Linked DNA regions of Homo sapiens: all the other regions are linked to region 4. The links are contacts of gene promoters, found by promoter capture Hi-C in blood cells and fetal thymus (Javierre and others, 2016). All regions are on one chromosome and are shown on one strand. Each heading gives the region's core, a stretch centred on a gene start or on the middle of the fragment in contact. The rest is flanking DNA. Distances are from core to core; before and after follow the strand shown.

Region 1 (4,257 bases), core at 1,529-4,028, 800 kb after region 4:
AGATTTTAACTAAAAAGAATAAATAGTGTTATAATCTTTACATACATAATTTTGTGAATCGTAAAAGTATATCTACAACAAATTGAATAAAAACGAAAATAGCAAATTACTTGGTTTATTTAAATTAAATTTATTTTTTATTTTGATGTTATTTATAAATTTAATTTAAATAAGTTAAATAAATTCTCTCAGCATTTGCACTAAATTTCACTAGTTGCCTTTTATAAAACAAGATCTCCTTTAGCCAACTTCCCTCCAAAACTGGTCACTACTTGCTTATTGTATACTGTTTTTTAGTAGCACCACTATCTTCTAATCATCTAAGCTGTAAGCCTGCTTCATTCTTGTCTTCTCTCTTACCTTCATCCCTGCTTCCCAATCAGTTCCCAAGTTCTGATTCTGCCTTCCAAGTAGGTCTTGAATCTGTCTTCTCCTCTTAATCTGCACTCTTCCACACATTTGCACAATTCAGCTATTATGTTTCTCACCTAGCCTACTGCAATATCTTTCTTTTTTAATATTTAATATTTAATTTTTTTTTTGAGATGGAGTCTCATTCTGTTGCCCAGGCTGGAATGCAGTGGACAATCTCGGCTCACTGCAACCTCCGCCTCCCGGGTTCATGCGATTCTCCTGCCTCAGCCTCCCAAGTAGCTGGGATTACAGGTACACACCACCATGCCTGGCTAATTTTTTCTATTTTTAGTAGAGATGGGGTTTCACTATGTTGGCCAGACTGTTCTCGCACTCCTGACCTCGTGATCCACCTGCCTCGGCCTCCCAAAGTGCTGGGATTACAGGCGTGAGCCACCGAGCCCAGCCTATTTTTAAATTTTAATCCATTTATTTATTTATTTATTGACCAGGTTATGAGTCTGTATAACTTTTTGTATTTTTGATAGAGACGGGGTTTTGCCAGGTTGCCAAGGCTGGTCTCAAACTCCTGGGCTCAAGCAATCTACCTGCCTTGGCCTCGCAAAGAGTTGGAGTAACAGGCATGAGCCACTGCACCTGGCCAAGCAGTATCTTTCTAACTGATAGCCTGTTGTTACTCCTCCTCAATACCTCCTTTTCAAAAACGTTTTTCTTACTTCCACCAGAGTATTTGATCTCTAAATTGCCAATCTACCTCTCCTCTGTTTTGTTCCTCATCTGGAAGACACATCTCTTCACCTGAAAGCCACAATCCAAGCTCCTTAGCATAACACCCAAGGCTCCCTTCATAATGTGGTGCCATCCATGGCTCCTGCCACCTCTCCCTACTCTGTGTCCACACTAGAGACAGTGATAGGACTAATTTCTCAGCAGTGGGCTGGCACCCACCATGCAGCAGCATCTGTCTACATCATTGCTCATTCTGTTCCTTTATCTACCATACAATTTCCTGCCCTTCCCTGGAAGGGCCAATTCCTACTCAATAAACGCGGATGCGACCTCCCCAGAAGACTTTCCTGATGTATTAGCAATCTCTACATACCCCTCAGAGAACTGATCCATTCTGTGGAAAGGATGCGTTTCCCATACTACCTTGTTCCTCTAGGTTTTAAGTTCCTCAAAGCATGACCTATTTGATTTGTGTTTGTAAATAAAATCTTGTTAATGTGCCTGGCACAAAGTAGCTTCTCAGTAAATATTTGTCAAATTAAAGCTTTTGCCAACAGGTATAAAGCTGTTACTCTAGAATGGATAGATAGTATGCCAGAAATCTTCTATGTCAACATTGTTATTGCACTATGTTGGCTACTAGCACCCCGTAGTATTAAGATAAGCTTGCACAGAATTCGTAAGTTTTGGAATGTATAAAATAATGACTTTCAGTGTTTTTATTATAGTGCTGAATTTTGTTTTCCTTTTTCTTATCCTTTCTATTTTCCTTGGGTTCTTTTTGTCCTCTGAAGTATCTCAAATATTCTTATAGAATCAATAATGAAAATATTATTTTTAAAACAGTGTGCCAACTTATAGTACATTTTCAAAAGAAATGTTCTTATGTTTGCTAACTTTTTTTGAATGAATATAGCAAAGAAAAGAAGGCTCTGAAGAAAGACACCACATAGAAGAATTGCTTTCATTATGTAAAAACCGGGTGCCAACTTTTTTAAATGACTCTTTTTATCATTAAAGTTACTTAAAAAGTTCCAATCTGGAAGACTACTCTGGTCTTCATGTTCTTATGCATTAATTATTAACACAGTATGAACCTTGTTCTTCCTTTCTCTTTCATCAGAAAATCTTGAACCTGATGATAAGAAATAATATGGCCAAATATTATAATATATTAAGGAAGGGAATTTTTAAGTAAGAATTAATCTTACTAAAAATGTGAGTAAAAAAGAGTAGAAATGGAATTATTTGCAGAAATGATCCTTCCGGCAGATATATAGACACGCTTTTAAGTGTCTTTATAATTACCATGAGAATAAAAAAAAAATCAGTACTTGTAAAAGAAAGTGAAAAAAAGTGGTATAATAAAACCTATTTTCTCCTTAACAAAGTTTTACCGACAAGTAATGGCATTTAAAATCGTATTTTCTTCTTGCTATATTAAGATTTTCATTTAAGGTTAAACTGTACAGCTATTTTCAAGTAACCCTTTTTTTTTTTTTTACAAGTAAGCATTTAAACTTTTATGCATCAAGACTCCATCTATATAAGTAAATATACAAGATCTTTGGGCTTAAAAAAATATTCAAGTCAGAATAAGAAAAGAAATAAAGTACCAACCTGTTGTAGTCGGCAGAGAGGAGCAGTCTTGAGTACAGAGTATAAAATCAAATGACCTAACTCCAGCTACTTTTGTTTTCACTTTACACCCCGCCTTTATCTTGTATCCAAGAAGGCTTTCCTGAAATTTAACCTTGTGAGCACTTGATATTTTATTTCCTGTAAAACCATCTGTGAAGTTAAATTCAACTTCTTAAGTGGTTTAGGTTACAAATTTGAGAAAATCCATCTTTTTTCAAAAACTATAGACCTTTCATAGTTTCCACTTAGTCAAAGGGGACAAGAAAGTGCCTGCAGCTGAGCTACTGACTGCTGAACCAGAAGGAGAATCCACCTGAGGGCATCTAGGCAGCACTTGTAGGTAGCATCTAGAGAAATACTCTCTAAAGTTATTTTGCCTAAGGAAGAAAGCAAATATGATTTTAACCAAGGAAAATATCTTTTTGAAGACTAAATTATCAAAGATTAAATTATAAGTAATCATTAGGTATTTGCAATAGAATTTAACATTTTTATGCCACATCATTTAATATTTATTTAAACTACTAGAGTCTTCCTGGCTTCACTGTACTTTCTCTATCCTTGTCCCAGAGTATTTTCCCATGGCTTTAAACTCTCTTGCTTTCTTGTTACCTTTTTTCCCAAAGCTAGAATATGAACCTTCAAAATCCTTCAGTCTGGGAGGCTGTTTATTTTTTCCACATTTCCACACAAGTAAGTTAGAGAAAGAAGAGAAATTTATGCTGATTTGGCCCTCATGGTCTATTTGAACTTGGCTTTCCTCAAATTTGCATGGCAGTTATCTATTTTTTCATGCAAGGCCAGGCTCAGTCTCCACCTGCAGAAATTATTTCAGACCCATGCCATTTTTTCTATTTTTCTCTTTTTTAAAAAAAAACTTTTAAGTTCAGGGGTACACATGCAAGTTTGTTACACAGGTAAACATGTATCATGGGGGTTTGTTGTGCAGATTATTTTATCACCCAGGTATTGAGCCTAGTACCCATTAGTTATTTTTCCTGATCCTCTTTCTCTACCACCCTCTACCCTTTGATAGGCCCCAGTGTGTTTCCCTCCATGTGTCCATGTGTTCTCATCTTAGCTCCCACTTATAAGTGAGAACATGCAGTATTTAGCTTTCTGTCCCTTTGTTAGTTTGCTAAGGATAATGGTCTCCAGCTCCATCCACGTGCCTGCAAAGAACATGATCTCATTCTTTTTTATGGCTACATAGTATTCCATGCTGTATATGTACCACATTTTCTTTGTCCAGTCTATCATTGATGGGCAAATATTTAGGTTGATTCCATGTCTTTGCTATTGTGCATAGTGCTGCAATGGACATATGCATGCATGTGTCTTTATAATAGAATAATTTATATTCCTTTGGGTATATACCCAGTAATGGAATTGTTGGCTCGAATGATATTTCTGTCTTTAGGTCTTTGAGGAATTGCCACACTGTTTTCTACACTCCCACCAACAGTTTGTAAGTGCTCCTTTTTCTTCACAACCTCACCAGCAGCTGTAATT
Region 2 (4,073 bases), core at 1,574-4,073, 710 kb after region 4:
TGTTGACTTATGGATGTGGCTTGCTTAGGTTTCAACATCTGCAGGTAATGTTATTTTAGGCATCTTTTTATTTATTTATTTAAGAAACAGGGTCTTCTCTGTCACCCAGGCTGGAGTGCAGTGGCAAGATTATTTCTGCCAAAGGAATAAATTCTAAAGATCTGCTATACAACATTGTCCCTATAGTTAACAATACTGTAGTACACTTAAAAATTTATTAAGAGGGTAGATCTCACGTTAAGTGGTCTTACCACAATACAATTTTTAAAATTAAAAAATAAGTCAGACACAAAAGATCAAAAAAAGTTTCTTAAAGGTAGTTTATTTCTTGAAGAGAAAAAAAGTCTTTTTCAATTATGTTTCATTGAATTGCGGTATTATTATACAGTCATGCATTGCTTAACAATGGGGATATGTTCTGAGAAACACATCATTAGGTGATTGTATCATTGTGTGAGCATTGTAGAGCGTACTTACACAAATCTAGATGGTACAGCCTACCACACATGGAGGCTATATGGTATGGCCTATTGCTCCCAGGCTACAAACCTGCACAGCATATTACTGTACTGAATACTGTGTGTAACTGTAAGTATTTGTGTATCTAAATACAGAAAAGTTACAGTAAAAATGTGGTATGAAAGTTTTAAAACGGTATGCCTGTATAGGGCAGCTTCATTATAATTTTATAGGATCATCATCATGTATGCAGTTTGTTGTTGACCAAAACATTGTTATGTGCACATGACTGTATATGTATTAAGAGTTTGGACTCTGTAAGCCAGTCAGCCTCCTTTTCATGGATTAATGCCTATCTAAACTTGGGCAAGATCTAAGCCCCAGGCGGACTTTGGCAGTTTATGAAAGGGGTTGTGAAGCAAATTAATTGAGGTCGTTCTTGGTCCTTGTGAGGTACTAGAAAGATGTTTAGCACATAGAAGTAAATCTTTAGGAAGTTTTGGCTAAAATAATTCCTATCATCTGCAATGCCATGGTTGATTTATATATATATACAATTGTAAATGAAGTCTTACATTTGAGTATGCTGTATCATATTTGTAGATGTGAAATGTTTGCAATTTCACAGCCTTTTTCCTTTCTTTATTGTGTATTGTTTGAATATAATTTATTCTTTTTAGTAACTTTTCATTCCACACTTCTGAGATTTTTAATGTATTAACTAAAGTTTGAATTAAATTGTGTTTTGAGCTTATAAATATTAGTACAGAAATTTTTATTCTAGTAACAGTTTATCAAATAAATATGTCCTAAATTTAAAAACATTTAAGTGACATTTCTATTATACAGCTATAAAATAGGAATAATTATAAATTCTTTTTTGCAAATCTCTTGTTAGATGTACAGTGACTTACGTGAAATAGAACTCAGTATTTCTTCTTTTTCTCCCTAGGCTTGGGAAACAGTGAGATTGGAGTACCTGGAAGGCCCCACTGTTACTTCTTCATACAGGCAAAAGCTAATCAACTATTTCACCTTGCAGCTAAGGTATTGTAAATGTTCCTGTTGTTCTTCTGTAACTTCTGCAACACACTACCTTTGTGTCCTTATTTCTGTTTCTTAGCTTACAACTTAAAGTACAAAAACTTAATTATTACAAAAAAGATTAAATCCTCTCCCTATTCTGTTAATGTCAAAAGAGCAAAAGATGATTTTGTCTTTTAATATTATGCTAAAAGTTTAAACAAGGAAAATCAATGTAGGATCATTTTATTATTTTTATTTTATTCCAATAGTTTGTGTCCATGTATCTGTATGTGTATATACGGGTCCATTGAGTGTTTTTTTAAATAGTTCAATTTTAGGAAAATACTTTTAGAGTTTGGTTGATGGTTCTGCATATCACTGAATTTATTTTCTTAGATTGGTAAAGTCTCTGATTTTGACCTAACTTTTTTAGTATTAAATTATACTTAAAGAATCAGAGATATATGTTAAATATTTTTCTTCCTTTGACATTTGCCTGAAGCCTTTTTGAAGCAGTCTCATTGTAGGAAGATATTGAATATTGTCTCCTCTCTTTTGATAGTCAGGACAGAGTGACTTGGAGAAGTGCAGATGAACTCCCGTGGCTTTTTCAGCAGCAGGGAAGTAAACAGAAGCTGCATGATTGCCTTCTTAATCTCTTTGTGTCTCAAAACCTTTATAAAAGGTAAGAAACATTATAGAACATCTTTCCCCAGAAAGAGAGATTTAAAGTTGTTCAGTTTAACAAAGAAAAAATGGTATTTTTAATTTAAAAATTAGTCTAAGTATCTGAAATACAAATAGTGTAGGAGAAATCTTGAGACAATTTACAAATCTCTATTAGATCTGCTTTTCCCAAGAGGAAAACATAGAGTACTGCTGCTTTATGAAATCAGAGCTGGAATGATTTCGGTTCAACTTTTTATCTTATGCTTACATTTAAGCATGTCTAAATTTAAACCACTCAGAGAGGTGGTTCGTAATGTCTGCTTCTTTGGGCCTTCAGATATCTGAAAGCGTAGCCTTCAAACCAGACTCGGGTCCAAGTAGAATCTGTCTGGTGTTGAATTTATTTGTTTTTGTTTGTTTGTTTACTTTCTATGTCTGGTGTTGAATTTAAAGAAAGAATTACCCTAATTCAAAAATGTATTCTGTTTGTCTCTTTTGATATGTTATAGTTTGTCAGTGGCAGAACTACCTTTTTATGAGGCAACTGTCTAACCTACTAAGCTTCATGAGGGTTTTTTTCTGCCTTACTTAGAGATTTAGACATTTCTTATACAATAAGTATCATAATTTATTTTGCTCCTACATAAACTCTCTCAAATTTGTTGCATCTCTTATTTCTGATCTCCATTCCAATTTTTCATGATTCCTTTGAAATCAGATATTTTTTAGTTTACCAGCCCCATACTACTTAAGATCGCCTACAGATGAATAAGCTTACTTTTGTCATTCAATTTCTTGATGAAAATACAAAGTAGATACTCTGTGACAGTTTATTTTTTATTAGTTTCTTCTCTTTGAATTTCCATACTTAAAATAATTTTGGGAGTGAACTCAGTGGTTGGCTCCATATTGTGAAATGTGTAAAAAGGATTCAGATAGATTCCCATTGGTAAGTAGCCATGATGGTATTAAGGATAACAGCCAACACCGTGGAGTACTTACTGTGTGCCATAATCCCCCTACAGTACCAGCTGAGGCAGGTAGTGTCTCCATTTCTGCAGATGAAGGTGATGAGGTCTAAGAGGTCAGATAACCTGCTCAAGATTACATAGCTAGGATAGTGGTGGAATTCAGATAGTGAGTGGTCTGAGTCTTACCTCATTACACAGTACTCGCCTACTAATAAATTGTCAATAACTTGATATTAATTCTGGAGTTTTGATTCTGTAATGGATTTTAAAGTGTGTTTTTCATTAAAGTACTGTTATTTGTTGAAACAGGGGACACTTTGCTGAGTTGCTGAGTTATTGGCAGTTTGTTGGCAAAGACAAAAGTGCAATGGCAACAGAATACTTCGATTCATTGAAGCAGTATGAGAAAAACTGCGAAGGCGAGGACAACATGAGTTGCTTAGCTGATCTTTATGAAACCTTGGGGCGATTTCTCAAGGATCTAGGCCTTCTCAGTCAGGTAAGCTCAGCAGATCAATGGCAAGCCAGAGACAGGTGGGATTTTTGTGTTCACTCTTCTCTTTTTCCAAGATGTTAATGTGGTTTTCATTTGTTGTGCTATAATCCTTAATATTTAATCAGATGACAGATCTTGCAGCATTTCACTCACTTTAACTGGCCTTTCACCCCTTTTCCCCCCAGGCCATAGTACCTTTGCAGAGGTCTTTAGAGATTCGAGAAACAGCTTTAGATCCCGATCACCCAAGAGTAGCCCAGTCCCTCCACCAACTAGCAAGTGTATACGTGCAGTGGAAGAAGTTTGGCAATGCAGAACAACTGTATAAACAGGCGTTGGAAATCTCAGAAAATGCTTATGGTGCGGACCATCCATATACTGCTCGTGAACTTGAAGCACTTGCAACTTTGTACCAGAAACAAAATAAGTAAGATTTTTTAGATCAGTAATAC
Region 3 (4,128 bases), core at 232-2,731, 640 kb after region 4:
GCCGCATATCTACAACTATCTGATCTTTGACAAACCTGACAAAAACAAGCAATGGGGAAAGGATTCCCTATTTAATAAATGGTGCTGGGAAAACTGGCTAGCCATATGTAGAAAGCTGAAACTGGATCCGTTCCTTACACCTTATACAAAAATCAATTCAAGATGGATTAAAGACTTAAACGTTAGACCTAAAACCATAAAAACCCTAGAAGAAAACCTAGGCATTACCATTCAGGACATGGGCATGGGCAAGGACTTCATGTCTAAAACACCAAAAGCAATGGCAACAAAAGACAAAATTGACAAATGGGATCTAATTAAACTAAAGAGCTTCTGCACAGCAAAAGAAACTACCATCAGAGTGAACAGGCAACCTACAAAATGGGAGAAAATTTTCACAATCTACTCATCTGACAAAGGGCTAATATCCAGAATCTACGATGAAGTCAAACAAATTTACAAGAAAAAACAAACAACCCCATCAAAAAGTGGGCGAAGGACATGAACAGACACTTCTCAAAAGAAGACATTTATGCAGCCAAAAAACACATGAAGAAATGCTCATCATCACTGGCCATCAGAGAAATGCAAATCAAAACCACAATGAGATACCATCTCACACCAGTTAGAATGGCAATCATTAAAAGGTCAGGAAACAACAGGTGCTGGAGAGGATGTGGAGAAATAGGAACACTTTTACACTGTTGATGGGACTGTAAACTAGTTCAACCATTGTGGAAGTCAGTGTGGCGATTCCTCAGGGATCTAGAACTAGAAATACCATTTGACCCAGCCATCCCATTACTGGGTATATACCCAAAGGACTATAAATCATGCTGCTATAAAGACACATGCACACGTATGTTTATTGCGGCATTATTCACAATAGCAAAGACTTGGAACCAACCCAAATGTCCAACAATGATAGACTGGATTAAGAAATTGTGGCACACATACACCATGGAATACTATGCAGCCATAAAAAATGATGAGTTCATGTCCTTTGTAGGGACATGGATGAAATTGGAAAACATCATTCTCAGTAAACTATCGCAAGAACAAAAAACCAAGCACCGCATATTCTCACTCATAGGTGGGAATTGAACAATGAGATCACATGGACACAGGAAGGGGAATATCACACTCTGGGGACCGTTGTGGGGTGGGGGGAGGGGGGAGGGATAGCATTGGGAGATATACCTAATGCTAGATGACGAGTTAGTGGGTGCAGTGCACTAGCATGCCACATGTATACATATGTAACTAACCTGCACAATGTGCACATGTACCCTAAAACTTAAAGTATAATAAAAAAAAAGATGGAAAAAAAAAGAAAAAAAAAACTGTATGATGTATAGTATGTTACTCAGTGATAACATATTTTGCAAGTAGAACCAACAGATTTTACTTCTAGACCCAATGTTGAGTGTAAGAGAGAAGTAGGCAGTGTAAAGAGATGTCAAGAACACCAATGTTTCTGGCCTGAGTGACTGGAAGCGTGGCATTGCCGTGACCTAGGAGCAGGAAGGTTGCAGGAGCTGCTGGATGAAGGAGAACATCAGGAACTCATTTCTAGATATGTTACATTTTAGATGCCTATTAGTCATACAGAAGAAGGTGTCAAGTAGGCAGTTAGATATACAAGTTCAGGGAAGAGGTCCAGATTGGAGATATACATTCGGAAACCATCAATGAATAAACAATATTCGGACCCATAAGACTGGATGAGATTAGCCAAGGAGTGATTATAAAGAAAGAAGATTAAAACAGCTCTACTCAAAGGGTTGTTGTTTGTGGTAAGGTGTATGGGGGGGTGGTTTAGGTTAGATTACTGAGAGCTTTATTTATTGAGGGCAAATAGGTGCTAAGAGCCGTATATCCCTTAACTGATTCAATTTTCTAGGAAGTAAGTGATATTATTTTCTTCATATTTAAAAGTTTTTATATTTGCCCAAAGTCATAGAATTAGTAGAGATCACACAGGGATTTGAAACCACAACCCATGTTCTTAACCCATATACTTTATCTTATATATAAAATATAATTTTTATACATTATCTAATATATAAAAAACCTAATGCCAGTTGATCATTCTGACACATGATAAGCATTTGATTAAATGACCCTCCAATACTCTTATGAACTTGTGCCTTGAACAATAATTTGTTTGACAATGGCTTTGGGATCCTCACTTTCAAACATGCATGTTAATAATAATGACTCTTCTACCCAACCAAGGGCCAAATGAGGTAATATCTAAAGAAGTGGATCATAGATGATTCCATAGTTGTTAGAGAGCATTCTTGCTATCAATTCAAGATGAGTCTGGGTTTTGTGAATATGAGAGAATCCAATCAAATGGATTCTGCTCATGAAATACACACTCCAGTTGCACAGAAGTGTTGCATTTTAGAATAATGTTCCTTCTGTGAGATGTTTGACCTTGACTAGGCACTAATATTTCAACAACTGGCTGCTCATAAACTGGAATACAAACTGAAGTACTTGACTGAAGAAATAAAAATCGAGTATTTCCACAATGGCAAGGATTTTTTTTTAATCAGGATTTTGAATTTTTTTAATCACTTTCGCTATTGAAATATTATAATATTCAATTATCTTTTTAAATTTGTAAACCACTGTAAAAGCATTTTAGTTGTTTTCCCATTTCTTGATTTTAATGTTAGAAAATATTTCTGTACATAATACACACTCCCAGGATATTTGGGAATTTGACCCTATATCCCAAATGCCCAGCCTGTGTTTTTTAAGGAACAGGTAGACAACATATGGAATTTGAAGTTGGAAGACCATTGTTAAGTTCTGACACCTAAGTTTTTCAAAAGTTTATCCTAAAGCATGCTTTTTCTTCTCTTCCTACTATAGTACCTTCCTGCAGATATGGCAGGATGAGAGACTCAGACAGAAGACCTCTTTGGTCTTGGGTTACTTTACTGACCATCAATCAACAGAGTTATATCAGGAGCTTTCCACTCCAAACAGTACAAAATACAAAACACAGAATTATAACCAACTAAACATCCACTGCCCCCTAAGCACATGCTTATCTCTGAACCCCATACACTGAGATAAAAAATAAACAAAAGTTGTAGTCCTTGCTCCCTAGCAGCCACAATCTATGTCCAAAACCACGCATAGATAAAAAATAATTTTAAACAATTATAAACAACATTTAAACAAAAATAAACAACATAAGAATGACCGTGATTTAGTGTGTGATAAAAACTCAAAATGAGGAAAAATAATTATAGAATCATCAGGGAGGAGATCATGGAGGTTGACTGTAGGTAGCTGCATCCATTTGCAGTGTTTCATTTCCTACTAAAGGTTTTATCAGTTTCTGTAGCCACACCATTGAATAATCTTTGATAGAAATTTCACTGCTCTATGACTCAGTTTCTTCATATATCCATTTGTTGAGGTTGAGTTATTGTTTGTTTTTTTGTTTTGTTTGATTTTTGATACAGGGTCTTGTTCTGTTGCCCAGGCTGGAGTGCAGTGGCACAATCACTGGTCGCTGCCACCTCCACCTCCCTGGCCCATGTGATCCTCCTACCTCAGCCTCCTGAGTAGCTGGGATTAAGGGTGCATGCCACCATGCTCAATTAATTTTTGCATTTTTTCTGGAGACAAGGTTTCACTATGTTGCCCAGGCTAGTCTCAAACTCCTGGGCTCAAGCAATCCACCCACCTCAGCCTGCCAAATTGCTAGGATTAGAGGTGTGAGCCACTTTGAATATAACACTCCTTCTTTCTTGTAAAATTCACAGGGTGATAATTGGAAAACATCGAGAAATATCTCATTTTATTTTTGCAGATATATTCAAGGTGTTTTAATTAAATTATCTATCGTAGACATATCTATGATAATTAAAAGATGACACAGTGAGCCAAGTTATCTCTGCAGCCTAAACTTAAAGTAGACAAAAATAAAAATCTTATGACAAGGTAGATTCACACAGAATTGTGAATGAAGCTTACAGGTTTATAAACATTCCAGTCAGTATTTTTAATATACCAGAAGTGGGATGTTGAGAAATAAATCAGCAAAGTGTTTCTAACAAGTGAATAAGGGCTTTTTTTTCTTTCTTTCTTTTTTTTTGAGCA
Region 4 (4,259 bases), core at 888-3,387:
TGACAAGTCTGTGTGGCATCTGATTGCAAGCGATTGTCCAGCAGATGCTGACATATTGGAGTATCTAGGGATGTTCTGGTGGTTGTTATGGCACAATATTTGGAATAAGGACAGTTGTGAAGAATCCTGGAGGAATGGCTGCCTCTTAGATTTGACAGGCGTTAAGGCCCTGGACTGTTCTAAGATGGCTCTCCCTTGCAGCCCAGATGGATGCAAGCAGAACAGCAGCACCAGGGGGAGAGCCTGAGAGGATGGTGCTGTTCATCATGCACTCTGTGCTGTCAGTGGGCACTGACAGCAGTGCAGGAGAAGCATCCTGGGATGAAGTGGGAGGCAGGAGGGGCAAATGGGGAGTCCCTGTGTGCAACTGCTTAGCTTCCCCCAGCTATACACAAATAAAATTTTGTGACCTCCTCTTGGGAGGCTGCATACTGGACTCCAGGGGGCCAAGGGTCTGAGTTGGCAGTCCCTGGTGGGTTAGAGACTGATTTTGCTCAGAGGGATCCCAAGGCCAGCATCTGGAGAGAAAGAGGAGGAGGAGAGGTGAAGCCAGCTATCCACAGAGAGACCAGCTGAGAGGTGTAATGCTGGCTGGAGTCCCAGCATTAGAACTACAGGCTGCAGGCCAGACATGATGGATGTGCTCCAGACTCCGCAGAAATCACCCTGGAGAGTGGGAAAAGCAGGGCTGACCAAGCAAGGGAGAAAGATGAAACCTCTGCATCCTTCCCTGTCCAATAAGATAGCCATTAGCTACCTGTGGCTGTTTACATTTAAATTAATGAAAATTAGATAAAATAAAAATGCAATTCCTCAGTCTCATTAGCCACATTTCAAGTGCTTGATAGCCATATATGGCTAGTGGCTGCCAGATTGGACAGTGCAGATATAAGATATTAATATTTCCATCACGCAGAAAGCTCTACTTGAATGTAAATTACCTCATTAATATATTTTGTATTGATTACATGTTGAAATAACATTCTGGACATATAGAGTTAAATAAGCTATAATATTAACTTCACCTGCTTCTTTTTACGTGTTTTACTGTGGGTAATAGAAACTTGTCAATTACCAATGTAGTTCATATTTCTATTGAACAGCGTGGTTGTAGGTGGATACAGGAACACACCTCCATTTATTCATTGTTCTTAACACCTCATCCATCCAATGGTATTTGATTGGATAATAGCTGTAAAAATCCCTTCTCAACAGTAAAGGTGACTGAGGCAGCCCCAGGGTAATGGGGCAAATGCAACTTTGGAGGCACAAAAATTCAGGTTCAAATCTCATCTCCATCCCTCTACTAGCTTTGAAGTCTTGGGCAAATTACATGCCTCAGTTTCTCATCTGAAAAATGCAATCAGTGAATGATCCACTGCATAGCATTTCTTTGAAGTTTAAAGAAGACAGTGGGTAGTGCACGTATGGGGGCTAGCGTGGGCTCCTAGTAAACCTCGGTAAAAGGTAGCATTGTTGTTATCATTACCATTTTAAGTGTGAAAGTGTAGGGGATTATGGTCAGTTTCTCTGGCCTCAGCCTACTCACAACCCTACCCGCTGCCTTCAGCAGCCCCTCCCAGCCCTCTGCAAAGCCCTTGGCACAGCCTGGACACTTACCTGCTGGCAGCTGCTGGCCCAGGAAGCCCGTAGGGCACCCCAGTTTCCCGAGCGTGTGGCTTTGCTCTCCAGGTGCATCCGCAGTTGTGTTTCCAGCTCCTGACTGACTTGCTCAAGGGCGTGCACTTTGGCCATATATTCCACCAGGCAGCCCCCTAGGTCCTCAACAGCACCATGGTCCCTCTCCAAACCTGGAGCCGGCACGGTGGCCAGGCCTGAGCTCCGCAGGCCCTGAAGGAAGACACTGCTGATGCCGAGGGCCCGGCGGGTCACACGGGCACCCAAGCCACCTATGCACCCACTGGGTGCTGTTCCTACATAGACCCCGGGTGCTCGGACAAGGCCACTCATGGCATTGGTCCTGGAGGCTGGGGGGCTCTCCAGGGAGGATGATGACCGTGGCCCCCTGAAGGACGCCCTGCGCCTCTGGAGGGGCATGCTGGAGCTGGCACTGGTGGGCAAGTCCACTACCACTCGCCTCTCACTCATCACCCCTTCTGCCTCTGTGGTGCCCAGTGGGTTTACAGAGTCCAGTGGCTTTTGGTTTACAGCCCCAGCATCCCTGTGGCCTGGTCACGGGCCTCTCTGGAATCTCCCCTATCCCTGGGGCTGCTTTGTCTGCTGTCTTCCATGAGTTTCCATCATTCACTGAGCTGAAAGAGAAATGGGCACTGCCCAGGGCTGTGTGCAGAGAGGCACTCATGCATTCTTTGATGCAGGGTCATGTGCCCAACCTCCCAGATTATTCTGCTGGTGGTGGGGGAGGCTGGATCAGTGCAGGCTGTGGAGGTAGACCATTTGGGTTTGTGCATTTTACTACCTAAGTGGGCAAGGCAGGCATCAAGCAACCCCATTTTACAGATGAGTAAACTGAGGCTCAAGGACCTCAGATGACAAGTGTACTGATCACTTGCCCCAGACCTCAGATTACAAGCTAGGACTCAATCTAGCTATTTCAGGGCTTTCTACATCCCTATGTGTGCTGGCACATGTGAATGTGAACACATGTCCACACAGGCAATAGAGGATGAAAAATGGCAGGAGGCAGCTCCAGGGACCCAAGAGAAAAGACTTGCCTATGGTTTCCTCTCTCAGTCCTGGCAGCAGCTTCAGGTCCTTCCCTCACCTCTCTCCTTTCCTCCTCATCTCTGTCCTCTAATGCTCTGCTGTTCATCAGCTGCTTGCTGTTGGCCAGGATGCTTCCTCCCTCTGGACCTCACTGTCTGAACATTGGCTTGGGCCTTTAACTCTCTGATGCACCAGATAAGGACCTTGGGCAAATTCAGATCCCACACATGTTCCGGCCATTCCCTACACCTCTGCTTCTCCATCTGTTGGAAAACTGAGAAATAAAAACAACAACGAGGGTGTTTTCTGGTAAGCCTCTCCAAGGGTGCCCCAAGTTAGGATATGATGACACCCCTGGGTTTTAATTATTGACCTTGGCATCCACTAAGCCACCAAGGGTCACACCTCAATCACTTCTCTAGGATCAGAAAGGTTCCCCCAGTTACAGGATGACAACATGGACCTAAAAACCTCTGTACATAAGTTTTACCCTGGAGAAACCAGGTCACCAAACCCCAGAGCTGGATACTTTTCCAGATGCTGTAATGTAGGAATGTACCTCAGGTGAGAGAAGGAGAAGGGAGTCAATCTCTAGTGAGTAGCAGATCCAGCCTGGTGTGTGCATGAATCCTATGGTTTATTTCGTGGAATTCTCAACTCAACCTCAGGAGGAAGGAGGTCCAGGGTTGACAGGTACTGCCATATGGGCTGTGTACCTCACAGCTCTAAAATGACATGTCCTACAGTTGGCCACTGTCCTCTTATGTGAGGAGGACCCCGAGAGCTGCAATGACTTGCCCAAGGTTCTATGTCCAGAAAGTAGCAGAGCTGGGGGCAGACAACCTCTTCCAAACTCTGGGCCACTGACTTACTTAGGAGCCTCCCTGTTGCCCACCACCCAGAGAGCAGAGTACCTACCTGAGGTCACGCAGGTAGAGGTAAAAAACCTGGTCGCCTACTAGAGGACCCTGTGTGCACTTCCTTCCTACTGACCAGGACACTCCAACCCTTCCTTTCTTTATTGTCTTCCACTTTGTCTCTCTGAGATGGCCTGGGAGGTATTTTATAAATATCAGTGTTGGCTATTTGATGAACAGATGAAAGAACCAATTGGATTAAGTAAAGGCCAGTAGTGTCCTTGTTTATTCAGATGTAGCATTAATGCTGTGAACACCACCCCTGATGCACCCAGAAGGGGCATGCGAGCCTGTGTTACAGTAACAGCCTCCTATACGGATGACACTGACTTGGTTCTGAGGATCTGCATTATTGTGAATTCCAAGATGTATTGTCCAAGGCTGAATGAAAAGTTCAGGCTACTGATTAAGTTGTGCACAAATGTGTCATGTTTAGGCATTGTTATTCTCTACAGAATGGTAACACTCAATGGCCAGGTTAACTTCAGACTTCTCCGGACCAAAGATATTTACTATATAAATCCACTCAGCCCTGGAGACAGGGAGAAAGAGGGGGGGATGTACTTTGACACCACTGTCTCCAAAGACCTGATGAAAGATGAGTCTGTTTTGGAGAAACTGCAAACATGTTCAAAAAGATTTATTTTATCAAAT
Region 5 (3,867 bases), core at 46-2,545, 690 kb after region 4:
GTGTAGAAAACCCCAGTAGATGTGGGCTGCACTCAGTGGCTCATGCCTATAATCCCAGCACTTTGGGAGGCCAAGGTGAGAGGATCACTTGAGCCCAGGAATTCAAGACTTGCCTGGGCAACATGGTGAAACCCCATCTCTACAAAAAATACAAAAATTAGCTGGGTGTGGTGGCGTGTGCCTGTGGGCCTAGCTACTCGGTAGGCTGAGGTGGGAGGATCGCTTGAGCCCAGGAGGTTAAAGCTGCGGTGAGCTGTGATTGCACCACTGCACACCAGGCTGGGTGACAGAGTGAGACCCTGTCTCAAAAAAAAAAAAAAAAAAAAAAAAAAAAGGGAGAGAAAGAAAGAAGGGAGGGAGAGAGAAGACCTCAGCAGATTATTAGTTCTAGGACTTTTTTTTCTAGAATTTTCATTAAAAATATAATTTTGGTTCCCTATAACAAAGTTGTTTTTTGGGATTTTTTTTACCTTCACCTCAGTCACCCAACCTCTTCCAATCTGTCTCCAGATCTTTCCTGTAGTATATATTGGGTATAAGGATTAGGGTCATTTATTAGATGAGAAAAGTCTGAAAGAACTGGGAAAGAGAAAACTCTCAAAACTTTGGGGCTGCCATCCAAACAGAGAAGCACCTCTCCTTCTACATAGGTTCAAGAATTCTTAGTGAGCCTGGTCTGCCCAAGAAGGGTGCTGACATAATGAAGGAGGGCCAATCAAGAGCAAAGAATTCCTCATTTTGAAACCTTTATCTGGAATAAAGGCCTCTCCTGGACATGCCATATTTTAGCTCCTATGTTTCATTGTAAGAGATTTCTCCTGTGATTCAGCCATGAAGGGAGGCGGGTCAAATTAAAGGCATTAAAAAGAACTCCTGGAAAAGCAGTGCAGGAGCCTGGCTGTTGCCCTGGATGGTGCCTGTGTACCTACCCACGCATGACCTCCTGCCTACTTGTGTTAACATGGAAATTATACATTTTTAAATGGAATTTTGTTTGCCATCTATTTTCAAAGTCTCATGAGTCTAGTCCATTATTTTGAGCCAAGTTTAAGAGTATTTTTGAGATCTTTTTTAGGTTTAAAAAATAAAGTTTTATGTGCTTTACAATTTAATGCATAATTTATTATATTTATGCTCACTGTTGGCTAATGAATGTATTATATTTTAAGACCAAACTGGAAGAGAGCCATAACACATCCATTTTTGGAAAGCTTCACTTGTTGTGCAGTTGGACCTTTTCTGGCCACTTGTCACTGTAGTAAAACTCCATTATTGGCACTTAGGTTGATTAACTAACTGCTTGCTGCCACAATGCAGTATAGCACACAAAATGCTGATTTCCAATCTAGCCTTTTATTGGAAGACTGTGAAGAAGCTTTTCTGAAAAACCCTGAAGGAAAACCTCGATTAATCTTTCATCGTTTGGAAGATGGAAAAGTCAGTTCTGACTCTGTCCAGCAATTGATTGATCAAGTTTCTAATCTAAACAAGACCAGCAAAGCCAAGGTAAAATTCATAGGCATTTTTGAAAAACACACTTAGCTGAGGGAAAAACTGGAGCAAAGGCCATGAGGTGGGCATAAGCCTGGCATATCTGGGGAGGGGAGAGAAACCAGTGTGGCTGGAACAGATAAGTGAGGGGAGTAGGAGGAGAGGGGGCCTCATTGATTGTGAAGAACCTCGGAGGCCATTTTGAGGATATTAGCTTTTCACTTGGAGTGAGATTGGGAGCCACTGCAGGACTATAAGCAACAGAATGAGGGCTGGCGTGATCATCTGACAGTGATCTTTCTGGCTGCCATGTTGAGAATAGGTGGTCATTCAGGGGTAGTGTGCAGAGTCTGAGAGCCATTGCCATCATACAGGTGAGAGATGCTGGTGACTCCAAGCAGGGTGGTGGTAGAGGAAATGATGAGAAGTGGTAGGATTCTGAGTAAATTTTGACAGTAGAGCCAATAGGATTTCTTAACAGATTGGTTGTGGGTTGTGAGAAAAGAGAGAGAAATAAATCGCAGTGTGTGGCTAGCAAGAGTATGATCTGTATGATCAGATGGTATTTTGTGCTTTTCTCCCAAGCACAGAGTTCTTCTGTCTACTGACCAAGGATTAGTGTCAGGAGGAGACTTTTTTTTTTAAGAGACAGAGTCTCACTCTGTCACCCAGGCTGGAGTGTGGTAGCTTGTTCATATCTCACTGAAGCCTCAAACTCCTGGACTCAGAGATCGAGCAGTCCTCCCACCTCAGTGTCTTGAGTAGCTGGGACTACAGGCACAGGCCACCATGCCTGGCTACTTTGTTAAAATTTTTATAGAGATGGGGACTTATTATGTTGTCCACGCTGCAGGAGGAGACTTTTTATAGTGACTTTTCCTAAGAGCATTGGGGAAAGCAAAAAGCTGATGATGGGATGAGAGAAATTTGATCATTCCTAGATGCATGTTGGGATAATTTTTAGAATACATATTACAGGCTTTTTATTACTGTACACGGAGGCAACTTGGTAAATGTCTGTAGTTAATGTGAATAATACAATTGAAAACAACTCTAGGATTTTTACAGAGTTTTCACTTCCCTGTGCCCAGCCAAGAAATAAAATCAAATATGAATACAAGCATTTTTCTTTCCATCATTTAGTATTGAAAAGATAGCTTGAGAGCAGCATGACACATAAAACTAAAGAGACTAAGACAAAAAGGAAGTGCATTTTTATTATAATTTCCAGAGCCATTTCATTCTTTGTTTTAATTATTGTAGTATCAGCCTAGTCCACTACGTCCCACAAAAAAGATATTAATTTATCTTTTTTATTCTATTTATTCTATAACCTTTACTTTAAAAAATTTAGTATGCTGGAAGGATGAGTTTATTTTATAAAATAGGAGTGAAATAAGATCTCTCTGCCATGATTATAAATGTAAATGTAGGGTAAATCTCCATGCTTGTTCACTTGGTATGTATTGTAAAATCATTGCCTTATTCTAATTGTATCAAATATTAGTAGTAGTAGTAGACATGTTCTTACAGATTGGGCATTCTTCTTTCAGCCAGCTCAGTGAGACTACATAGTATACTATTTTGCTTTTGTCTTTTATAGAATTATAGCTTTATTGACATAAAATTGGATTTTGATGCATTTTGAAGGGTAAATATGTTGAGTGGTATGGAAATACATAAGAGAAAATTTGGAGACAGAGCAAAAAAAAAATGTATACTTCTTGGTTTTTTTTTTGTTTTTTGTTTTTTTTTTTGAGACAGAGTCTTACTCTGTCTTCCAGGCTGGAGTGCAGTAGAGCGATCTCAGCTCACTCCAAGCTCCGCCTCCCGGGTTCACGCCATTCTCTTGCCTCAACCTCCTGAGTAGCTGGCACTACAGGCACCGGCCACCACGCCCGGCTAATTTTTTGTATTTTTAGTAGAGATGGGGTTTCACCATGTTAGCCAGGATGGTCTTGATCTCCTGACTTCGTGAACCGCCCACCTCGACCTCCCAAAGTGCTGGGATTACAGGCATGAGCCACCGCGCCTGGCCTACTTCTTGTTTTATTGCTCCATTTTTCACACTAAATCCCTTGTGTGACCTTGGACAAGTTACTTACTTTGCCTCAGTTTACTCTTCTATAAAATGGGGATAATAATAGTATCTCCCTCCTAAGGTTGTTGTGAAGATAAATTAGCTAATATGTGTTAAATATTTAGAATAGTTCCTGTCACATAAGCAGTATAAAAGTATTTACCACCACTTCCTTCTGATATTATGGTTTTTCTCATTGTTCTTAAATGATTTTTATCTAGATCATTGATCACTCAGGAGATCCTGCAGAAGGAGTATATAAAACTTATATTTGTGTAGAAAAGATTATTAAACAG
Region 6 (3,753 bases), core at 1,254-3,753, 730 kb after region 4:
TGAGTGAACAAAACCATTTTATTCTATGTTTTAAAAGTTTAAGCTATAAATATTTGCATATTAACACTGCATACCTCTCTCTCACATCTTAATGCCTATAGCATAAAATATCTAAAACAGGAAATACTTCATTGGCATTACAAATTAGAATGAAGATGATAAATATTTTATATGATATTTACATATGGGTAAATCATATTTTTGAAGTACCTTTTTTGGAATTGTGTATGCCACTGTAATTCCTTCAGGTAAGTCTGGAACTGGACCTGAAAAATTTTTCAGTTCCTCTTCTGAAACCTCAGATACCAGCTCAATACCTGTAAATTTGATCCTATGTCAGTTTTTAAGGAATTTAATAAGCAATAATTATTCAATTTGTATAATCTTATTAGATTTGCTACCATAAAAGGTTTTGTTTTATACTGCCATTTCAATTTATAAAAGAATACCTACCCCATTCATTATCTTCATGGATTATCTCTTCCTCTTCTTGTATAACCTCTTGTTTAGGCAGTGCTGCTACCTTTTTCTGTAGAAATCAAACAGCATCAAAGTGTTCTTACTCATTCTCAGTTCTCTAAAGCATTAATCAAGAATTCAGACAGGCTTTTTATCTTACCAAAAGCAAGAAAGAACATTCATTTTTGAAGTATGGTGAATAAATTAACCATTTATCTTGTATTCCAAATCTGTTTATGTATTGTCCTATTCAATATGATCCCTCATGCATTCTAACAGATTGTCATATACCTTATATTCCTCCTGCTGCTTCCTGCAATTTCTGTCATCACACTGAGGATTTGGCTTCATGGACATAGTAGGAAAAAAATCCTGCATTGCATTGTATCCAAGGTAAAAACTAACAGTACCAAAATTTAACAGAAACCTAGAAAAATCAAAATAGACTTAAATAAAGAAATTTAAAACATGAAAAATACTAGAACACCTAAATTTTTTAAAAATAACGTTGAAATAGGTAATTATATATTTTTTTTAACCAGAAAACAGAAATCTGCATCCAGAAAACAGAAATTTTATCTTATTTACAGTGCCTGGCTCATAGTAGATACTTCAGTGTTTATTGAATGAAGGAAAGAAAAGATTACTCCATTTCATCAACTGTAGAACACACTATTTTTTTGAACCTCTAATAAAGATAAAATGCTGGCAGCTAAACAATTACACGTCAACAACTTCAAGAAGCATGCTGATTTCAGAGAAGCTAAAATGTGGGAGAAGTGTATTTTTTAAATCCCTGAGATAATTAAGAAAGCTACTTAATTTTAACATTTTGTATGTAACTTACTATAAAATGCACAATCTTAAATGTATAGCTCAATAAAATTTTGTATGAGCCTTTCATGTAACCATCACCAGATCAAGATACAGAACATTTTCAGCATCCCATGTGCCTCCAGCTCCCTCCTGCCCTCTTCCCAGTCAAATCTGATACTTTTTACTCTGTTGCCCAGGCTGGAGTAAGGTGGCGTGATCATGGCTCACTGTAGCCTCGCCCTCCCAGGCTCAAGCAATCCCATCTCAGCCTCCCAAGTAGCTGCGACTACAGGCAAGCACCACCACGCTTGGCTAATTTTTGTATTTTTTTTTTGTAAAGATGGGGCTTTGCCATGTTGCCCAAGCTGGTCTCAAATTCCTGGGCTCAAGCAATCCGCCTGCCTTGGCCTCCCAAATTGTTGGGATTACAGGCGTGAGCCACTGCACCCGGCCAATCTGATGTCTTTTATTAGGTTGGCGCAAAAGTAATTGCAGTTTTTGTTAAAAGTAATGGCAAAATCCACAATTACCTTTGCACTAACATAATAAAAGCTTCTATACAGAGAAAATCACATAAAAAAGATAAATGACAAAAATATTTGCAAATACACATTCTTAATATACAAGACAAAAAAGAGCAACAACTATTAGCAGATAATTCACAGAAGAATGTAAGTGTTCAACCTTTTTCACAAATAAAAAGAAAAATTAAATGCCTGTTTTTTACCCACCAGAATGACAGATTACAGAGTTTGATGATACTCAAAGTTATCAAAGGTATGGGTGAACCAGGTACTCCTAAACTATGATACAAATGTATAATCCTTTTGCAGGAGAAATTTAGTAAATATTTCGTAAATTCAGAAATTCTACTTTAAAAAATGTGTACTATAGGCCGTGTGCAGTGGCTCATGCCTGTAACTCCTAGCACTTTAGAAGGTCGATATGGGCAGACTGCTCGAGCCCAGGAGTTCAAGACCAGCCTGGAAAACAAGGAGACTTTGTTTCTACAAAAAATACAAAAACATTAGCTGGGCGTGGTGGTGGGTGCTTGTAGTCACAGCTACCTGGGAGGCTGAGGTAGGAGGATCACTTGAACCTGGAAGACTGCAGTTAGCCGAGATTGTGCCTTTGTGCCTCTGCACTCCAGCCTGGGTGACAGAGTGAAACCCTGTTTAAAAAAAAAAAAAAAAGTACTATAGAAAACTCTAGGCTGGGCACAGTGGCTCACGCCTGTAATCCCAACACTTTGGGAGGCTGAGGTGGGCAGATTACTTGAGCTCAGGAGTTCAAGAACAGCCTGAGCAACATGGTGAAACCTTGTCTCTACAAAAAATACAAAAATTAGCCAGGCATTGTGGCATACACTCGTACTTCCAACTACTTGGAAGGCTGAGGTGGGAGGATCACTTGAGCTCAGGAGGTTGAGGCTGCAGTGAGCCATGACTGAGCCACTGAACTTCAGCTTGGGCAACACAGTGAGACCTTGTCTCCAAAAAAACAAAAAGAAGAGTGATCAATCTAGTATTCAAAGATATATACAAGATGTAGCCTATAGCATTGTTAATAAAAAAGAAAAGAATTAAGTAGCCTAAATGACCATCAATAGAGGGGCTAGCTAAATAGGACACATCCTTAAGGGAATACTTTGTTAGCCATGATTCTTTTCTCCTTTTTTGTATCATACTATAAAATGTTTTGTTTAGACAGGGCCTACTACTGTCTAAACAGGCTATTTGCTCTTATATGAAATAGCCCTAGACCATTACTTTGAGAGTTTATATGTATGCTTTTTTCAATTTCTTTGCTCGCAACTGACACTTCTTATTGATTGGTACCTCCTTGTGTCTTGTTGCAGTTTGTTCTTATTATATTGGAGGCTTAGGGAATACAACTAAGCTTATTAAAGTTGTAAAATGAGGGAAAATAAATAGCCTGAATTAGAGAACACCTAAAGGGGCTCTGCTTTTAATAAAGTATGAGTTGATTCATAAACTGTGACATAAATTTCAGCAGCAAAGAAATCTTTTTCCTTCTTTTTAGCTACAGTTTAGATAGTACAGTTGCTGGATATTTGTTTTTGGATAGCAGAGGTATCTAAAAGCAGATTTCAAGAATCTTTTTTAAGTACTGTTAATGTGTTTTATATTAACACTAATATAAATGTTAACATTTTATGTAAATGTAAAATTTACAGTAACACTAATGTTTAATTACATTAACAATAATTACTGTTTAGTCACATTGGTTTATTTTTGGTAAGACTTAAATCAAGATAGTAGAAACAAGTGTGTTTAAGTCTCCATCCACTGGACAGACTTGCAAAGATTTAAATCATTCAGTTAATGTTTCATAAATAAATATGCCACTACCATTGTATCATTTAATAAAAGCTATTCCAAATGCAGGGAGTAACTGACATTCACATATATTCACGTATGAATATGCACACATGTATTATATGTAATATTTAATATA
Region 7 (4,106 bases), core at 3-2,502, 660 kb after region 4:
TGATTATCTCAATAGATGCAGAAAAAGCCTTCGACAAAATTCAACACCCCTTCATGCTAAAAACTCTCAATAAACTAGGTATTGATGGAACGTATCTCAAAATAATAAGAGCTATTTATGACAAACCCACAGCCAATATCATACTGAATGGGCAAAAACTGGAAGCATTCCCTTTGAAAACTGGCACAAGACAAGGATGCCATCTCTCACCACTCCAATTCAATAAAGTGTTGGAAGTTCTGGCCAGGGCAATTAGGCAAGAGACAAAAATAAAGGGTATTCAATTAGGAAAAGAGGAAGTCAAATCGTCCCTGTTTGCAGATGACATGATTGTATATTTAGAAAACCCCATCGTCTCAGCCCAAAATCTCCTTAAGCTGATAAGCAACTTCAGCAAAGTCTCAGGATACAAAATCAATGTGCAAAAAACACAAGCATTCTTATACCCCAATAACAGACAGCGAGCCAACTCATGAGTGAACTCCCATTCACAATTGCTACAAACAGAATAAAATACCTAGGAATCCAACTTACAAGGGATGTGAAGGACCTCTTCAAGGAGAACTACAAACCACTGCTCAACGAAATAAAAGAGGACACAAACAAATGGAAGAACATTCTATGCTCATGGACAGGAAGAAACAACGTCATGAAAATGGCCACACTGCCCAAGGTAATTTATAGATTCAATGCCATCCCCATCAAGCTACCAATGACTTTCTTCACAGAATTGGAGAAAACTACTTTGAAGTTCATATGGAACCAAAAAAGAGCCCACATTGCCAAGACAATCCTAAGCGAAAAGAACAAAGCTGGAGGCATCATGCTACCTGACTTCAAACTATACTTTAAGGCTACAGTAACCAAAGCAGCATGGTACTGGTGCCAAAACAGAGATATAGACCAATGGAACAGAACAGAGGCCTCAGAAATAACACCACACATCTACAACCATCTGATCTTTGACAAACCTGACAAAAACAAGAAATGGGGAAAGGATTCCCTCTTTAATAAATGGTGCTGGGAAAACTGGCTAGCCATATGTAGAAAGCTGAAACTGGATCCCTTCCTTACACCTTACACAAAAATTAATTCAAGATGGATTAAAGACTTAAATGTTAGACCTAAAACCATAAAAACCCTAGAAGAAAACCTAGGCAATGCCATTCAGGACATAGGCATGGGCAAGGACTTCATGACTAAAACACCAAAAGCAATGGCAACAAAAGCCAAAATTGACAAATGGGATCTAATTAAACTAAAGAGCTTCTGCATGGCAAAAGAAACTCCCATCGGAGTGAACAGGCAACTTACAGAATGGGAGAAAATTTTTGCAATCTACCCATCTGACAAAGGGCTAATATCCAGAATCTACAAAGAACTTAAACAAACGTACAAGAAAAAAACAAACAACCCCATCGAAAAGTTGGCAAAGGAAATGAACAGACACCTCTCAAAAGAAGACATTTATGCAGCCAACAGACACAAGAAAAAATGCTCATCATCACTGGTCATCAGAGAAATGCAAATCAAAACCACAAGAGATATCATCTCACACCAGTCAGAATGGCAATCATTAAAAAGTCAGGAAACAACAGATGCTGGAGAGGATGTGGAGAAATAGGAACATTTTTACACTGTTGGTGGGAGTGTAAACTAGTTCAACCACTGTGGAAGACAGTGTGGCAATTCCTCAAGGTTCTAGAACTAGAAATACCATTTGACCCAGTGATCCCATTACTGGGTATATACCCAAAGGATTATAAATCATGCTACTATAAAGACACATGCACACATAAGTTTATTGTGGCACTATTCACAATAGGAAGGACTTGGAACCAACCCAAATGTCCATCAATGATAGACTCGATTAAGAAATTGTGGCACATATACACCATGGAATACTATGCAGCCATAAAAAAGGATGAGTTCATGTCCTTTGCAGGGATGTGAATGAAGCTGGAAACCATCATTCTCAGCAAACTATGACAAGGACAGAAAATCAAACACAGCATGTTCTCACTCATAGGTGGGAACTGAACAATGAGAACACTTGGACACAGGGCGGGGAACATCACACACCCAGGCCTGTCTGTGGGTGGGGGGCTGGAGGAGGGATAGCATTAGGAGAAATATCTAATGTAAATGATGAGTTGATGGGTGCAACAGACCAACATGGCACATGTATACCTATGTAACAAACCTGCACGTTGTGCACATGTACCCTAGAACTTAAAGTATAATTAAAAAAAAAAAAAGAAACAGAAACAGAAAAAGAAAATGGCCCCAAATGGAAGCAGAGGAAAGCAGCACGGAATGAAGAGCAGCAGAAACGGTGAAAGGACATCAATATGAACAAATGCTCACTATATAAAAACAGTTATGTTTGATAAAACTTAAAATAGAGAAAGAAGATACTTGACAACAAAAGCATAAAAATTGAAAATGGGGTAAATGAAGTTTCAGTTTTTAAATTCTTGCATTATCCATGAAATACTAAAAGTTCTAAATAATGATAAACTGAATAACCAAGGATATATGTGGAAATGTTTAGAATAACTACTAGAAGATTAATACATAAATATGTAACAAGCTAATATGGACAAATGAAATAACATTTAAAAATACTTGATTAATCCAAATAAAGGCAAGATATATATATGTATACTATTATGTAAAGGTAATATACATAATAAACATATATATTTACACATACATATATTTATTATCTATATATTTATACACAAAGTATATATTCATATGCAATATATATTTATATTTCTTTTAATATAAAATATATATTTATATGCTATATATATATATTCCTTTTAAATGGAAGTAAAACTTCAGCATCTGTTGGATATAGGCCTTTGGTTTGTTTTGAAAAAAAATGAGGAAAAAATTAAAACTTAAGTCACAAGAATTTATAATAAATATTGTCAATATATATGTGGCCTATGTAACTATTATATTTAAATCCACAAAGTTGCAGAAGAAAAATTACCCAGGATAGAAACTTTGTAGTAGAGCTCAATAATATATGGAAATTATTTCTAAGGAAAGAAACATAATTTCAAAAACACAGCTAGTTCTGGGGAAGCCAATTTACTTTAAGAAGCTGAAACATTCAGGATAATTTAATGCAGAGGGAGAATGACAAAAATCACCTTTTTTAGGTGATGATGGGAAGTGCGAAGTTTTATTTCTTCAGGTGAAGAAGGCTGTTATTTACTCAAAGGATGTTTGTTCCTAACCCAGGGAAATAGTATTTGATAGATGTGGTTTTATCTTCTGAGACTTCACTGTAGCAATGTTCTGTGAAACCATACTAGAATTAAGAATTTTTATACCTTTGGTAACTGACTCTCCCGATGTAGAGTTGAAAGGGGATGTTTTTACTTAACTATATCATAACAAATCTTTTTATTTATTTGTATGTACACACCCCACCCACACCCAACCCCTCACCACACACACATTGGCATTAGTGAAAGTAACTGACTTATCACAGATGTTCCAAATACTGAAGTTTCAAGATAATAGAAGTTTCTCTGATGAAGGGTCACCAACATCTTTTTTAAGACAACATATTAGCTACTTAGCAGAGAAGTTTTTATAAATTATTATACACTTGCCAATATACTTACATCAACTACAAACCACATAATATATATTTTACTGACAATTAAGGACCATTATTATGAACATTGATCGTTATACTAGCCTATAATGTTCTCAGGGACTGCAGAACTGCTAAAGGTGCTAAACTACTTCTTTTTTAAAGAAAATTATCCTATCTAATTTTTGTGGTTTTCCAGCTTCCTTTCTCGACTTCAGGCCACAGCTGTAGTTTTCACTACTGCCAATGTTTCCACTTTGTCCAGTCTTTTCTAATCTATTATAAATTTGAAAGCCAAGGTCCAACACAATAGAGCATAGGATCTTCATGGATCCTCTCCTGTGAGTTAGATGAATGCTGGACATGGAAAGTGTTTAGAATTTTACCAAAATTACTTTTCTCTTTTTCCACTTATGGGTTTGGGGTGGTATTTTACATAGCTAAGGTTTTCCTATAAGAGAACTACATGGAAGTGAAAAACATATGT

Evidence for each region. Contacts are between HindIII fragments. The CHiCAGO score rates a contact against its expected background, and 5 or more counts as called.
Region 1: a contact is called between the fragment with the promoter of ACKR4 here and the fragment with the promoter of BFSP2 in region 4, in 7 of 17 cell types (total CD8 T cells, naive CD8 T cells, naive CD4 T cells and 4 more). The highest score is 9.8, in total CD8 T cells.
Region 2: a fragment that was not itself captured here is called in contact with the fragment with the promoter of BFSP2 in region 4 in 1 of 17 cell types (erythroblasts); the score reaches 5.2 in erythroblasts.
Region 3: a contact is called between a fragment that was not itself captured here and the fragment with the promoter of BFSP2 in region 4, in 7 of 17 cell types (megakaryocytes, naive CD4 T cells, naive CD8 T cells and 4 more). The highest score is 9.3, in megakaryocytes.
Region 5: a fragment that was not itself captured here is called in contact with the fragment with the promoter of BFSP2 in region 4 in 1 of 17 cell types (fetal thymus); the score reaches 5.1 in fetal thymus.
Region 6: a contact is called between a fragment that was not itself captured here and the fragment with the promoter of BFSP2 in region 4, in 1 of 17 cell types (megakaryocytes). The highest score is 5.3, in megakaryocytes.
Region 7: a contact is called between a fragment that was not itself captured here and the fragment with the promoter of BFSP2 in region 4, in 14 of 17 cell types (megakaryocytes, total CD4 T cells, M1 macrophages and 11 more). The highest score is 11.8, in megakaryocytes.

What each region holds. Positions count from the first base shown.
Region 1 is chr3:132,595,791-132,600,047 of GRCh38, reverse strand. ACKR4 (atypical chemokine receptor 4) reads right to left here and starts at 2,778. Exons shown (of 2, transcript NM_016557.4): 1 at 2,725-2,778. The region is part of intron 13 of ACAD11 (acyl-CoA dehydrogenase family member 11); the gene reads left to right. The region is part of intron 39 of NPHP3-ACAD11 (NPHP3-ACAD11 readthrough (NMD candidate)); the gene reads left to right. The HindIII fragment of the contact is 3,278 bases long and covers 1,772-4,257 here.
Region 2 is chr3:132,688,625-132,692,697 of GRCh38, reverse strand. NPHP3 (nephrocystin 3) reads left to right here. Exons shown (of 27, transcript NM_153240.5): 17 at 1-44; 18 at 1,412-1,506; 19 at 2,048-2,170; 20 at 3,435-3,624; 21 at 3,807-4,048. It overlaps NPHP3-ACAD11 (NPHP3-ACAD11 readthrough (NMD candidate)), which reads left to right. Exons shown (of 45, transcript NR_037804.1): 16 at 1-44; 17 at 1,412-1,506; 18 at 2,048-2,170; 19 at 3,435-3,624; 20 at 3,807-4,048. Among named protein-coding and RNA genes, the nearest start is that of UBA5, 30 kb to the right of the region's middle. The HindIII fragment of the contact is 212 bases long and covers 2,718-2,929 here.
Region 3 is chr3:132,757,847-132,761,974 of GRCh38, reverse strand. The region is part of intron 3 of NPHP3-AS1 (NPHP3 antisense RNA 1); the gene reads right to left. Among named protein-coding and RNA genes, the nearest start is that of NPHP3-ACAD11, 37 kb to the right of the region's middle. The HindIII fragment of the contact is 5,036 bases long and covers 1-3,999 here.
Region 4 is chr3:133,397,934-133,402,192 of GRCh38, reverse strand. It overlaps BFSP2 (beaded filament structural protein 2), which reads right to left and starts at 2,137. Exons shown (of 7, transcript NM_003571.4): 1 at 1,621-2,137. The coding sequence starts at 2,109. The HindIII fragment of the contact is 8,153 bases long and covers 1-4,259 here.
Region 5 is chr3:132,705,740-132,709,606 of GRCh38, reverse strand. NPHP3 (nephrocystin 3) reads left to right here. Exons shown (of 27, transcript NM_153240.5): 7 at 1,350-1,506; 8 at 3,793-3,867. NPHP3-ACAD11 (NPHP3-ACAD11 readthrough (NMD candidate)) reads left to right here. Exons shown (of 45, transcript NR_037804.1): 7 at 1,350-1,506; 8 at 3,793-3,867. Among named protein-coding and RNA genes, the nearest start is that of NPHP3-AS1, 14 kb to the left of the region's middle. The HindIII fragment of the contact is 164 bases long and covers 1,214-1,377 here.
Region 6 is chr3:132,672,381-132,676,133 of GRCh38, reverse strand. UBA5 (ubiquitin like modifier activating enzyme 5) reads right to left here. Exons shown (of 12, transcript NM_024818.6): 9 at 751-886; 10 at 454-529; 11 at 211-317. The region is part of intron 26 of NPHP3-ACAD11 (NPHP3-ACAD11 readthrough (NMD candidate)); the gene reads left to right. Among named protein-coding and RNA genes, the nearest start is that of UBA5, 14 kb to the right of the region's middle. The HindIII fragment of the contact is 1,347 bases long and covers 1,830-3,176 here.
Region 7 is chr3:132,739,296-132,743,401 of GRCh38, reverse strand. All of the region lies in intron 3 of NPHP3-AS1 (NPHP3 antisense RNA 1), which reads right to left. Among named protein-coding and RNA genes, the nearest start is that of NPHP3-ACAD11, 19 kb to the right of the region's middle. The HindIII fragment of the contact is 6,523 bases long and covers 1-4,106 here.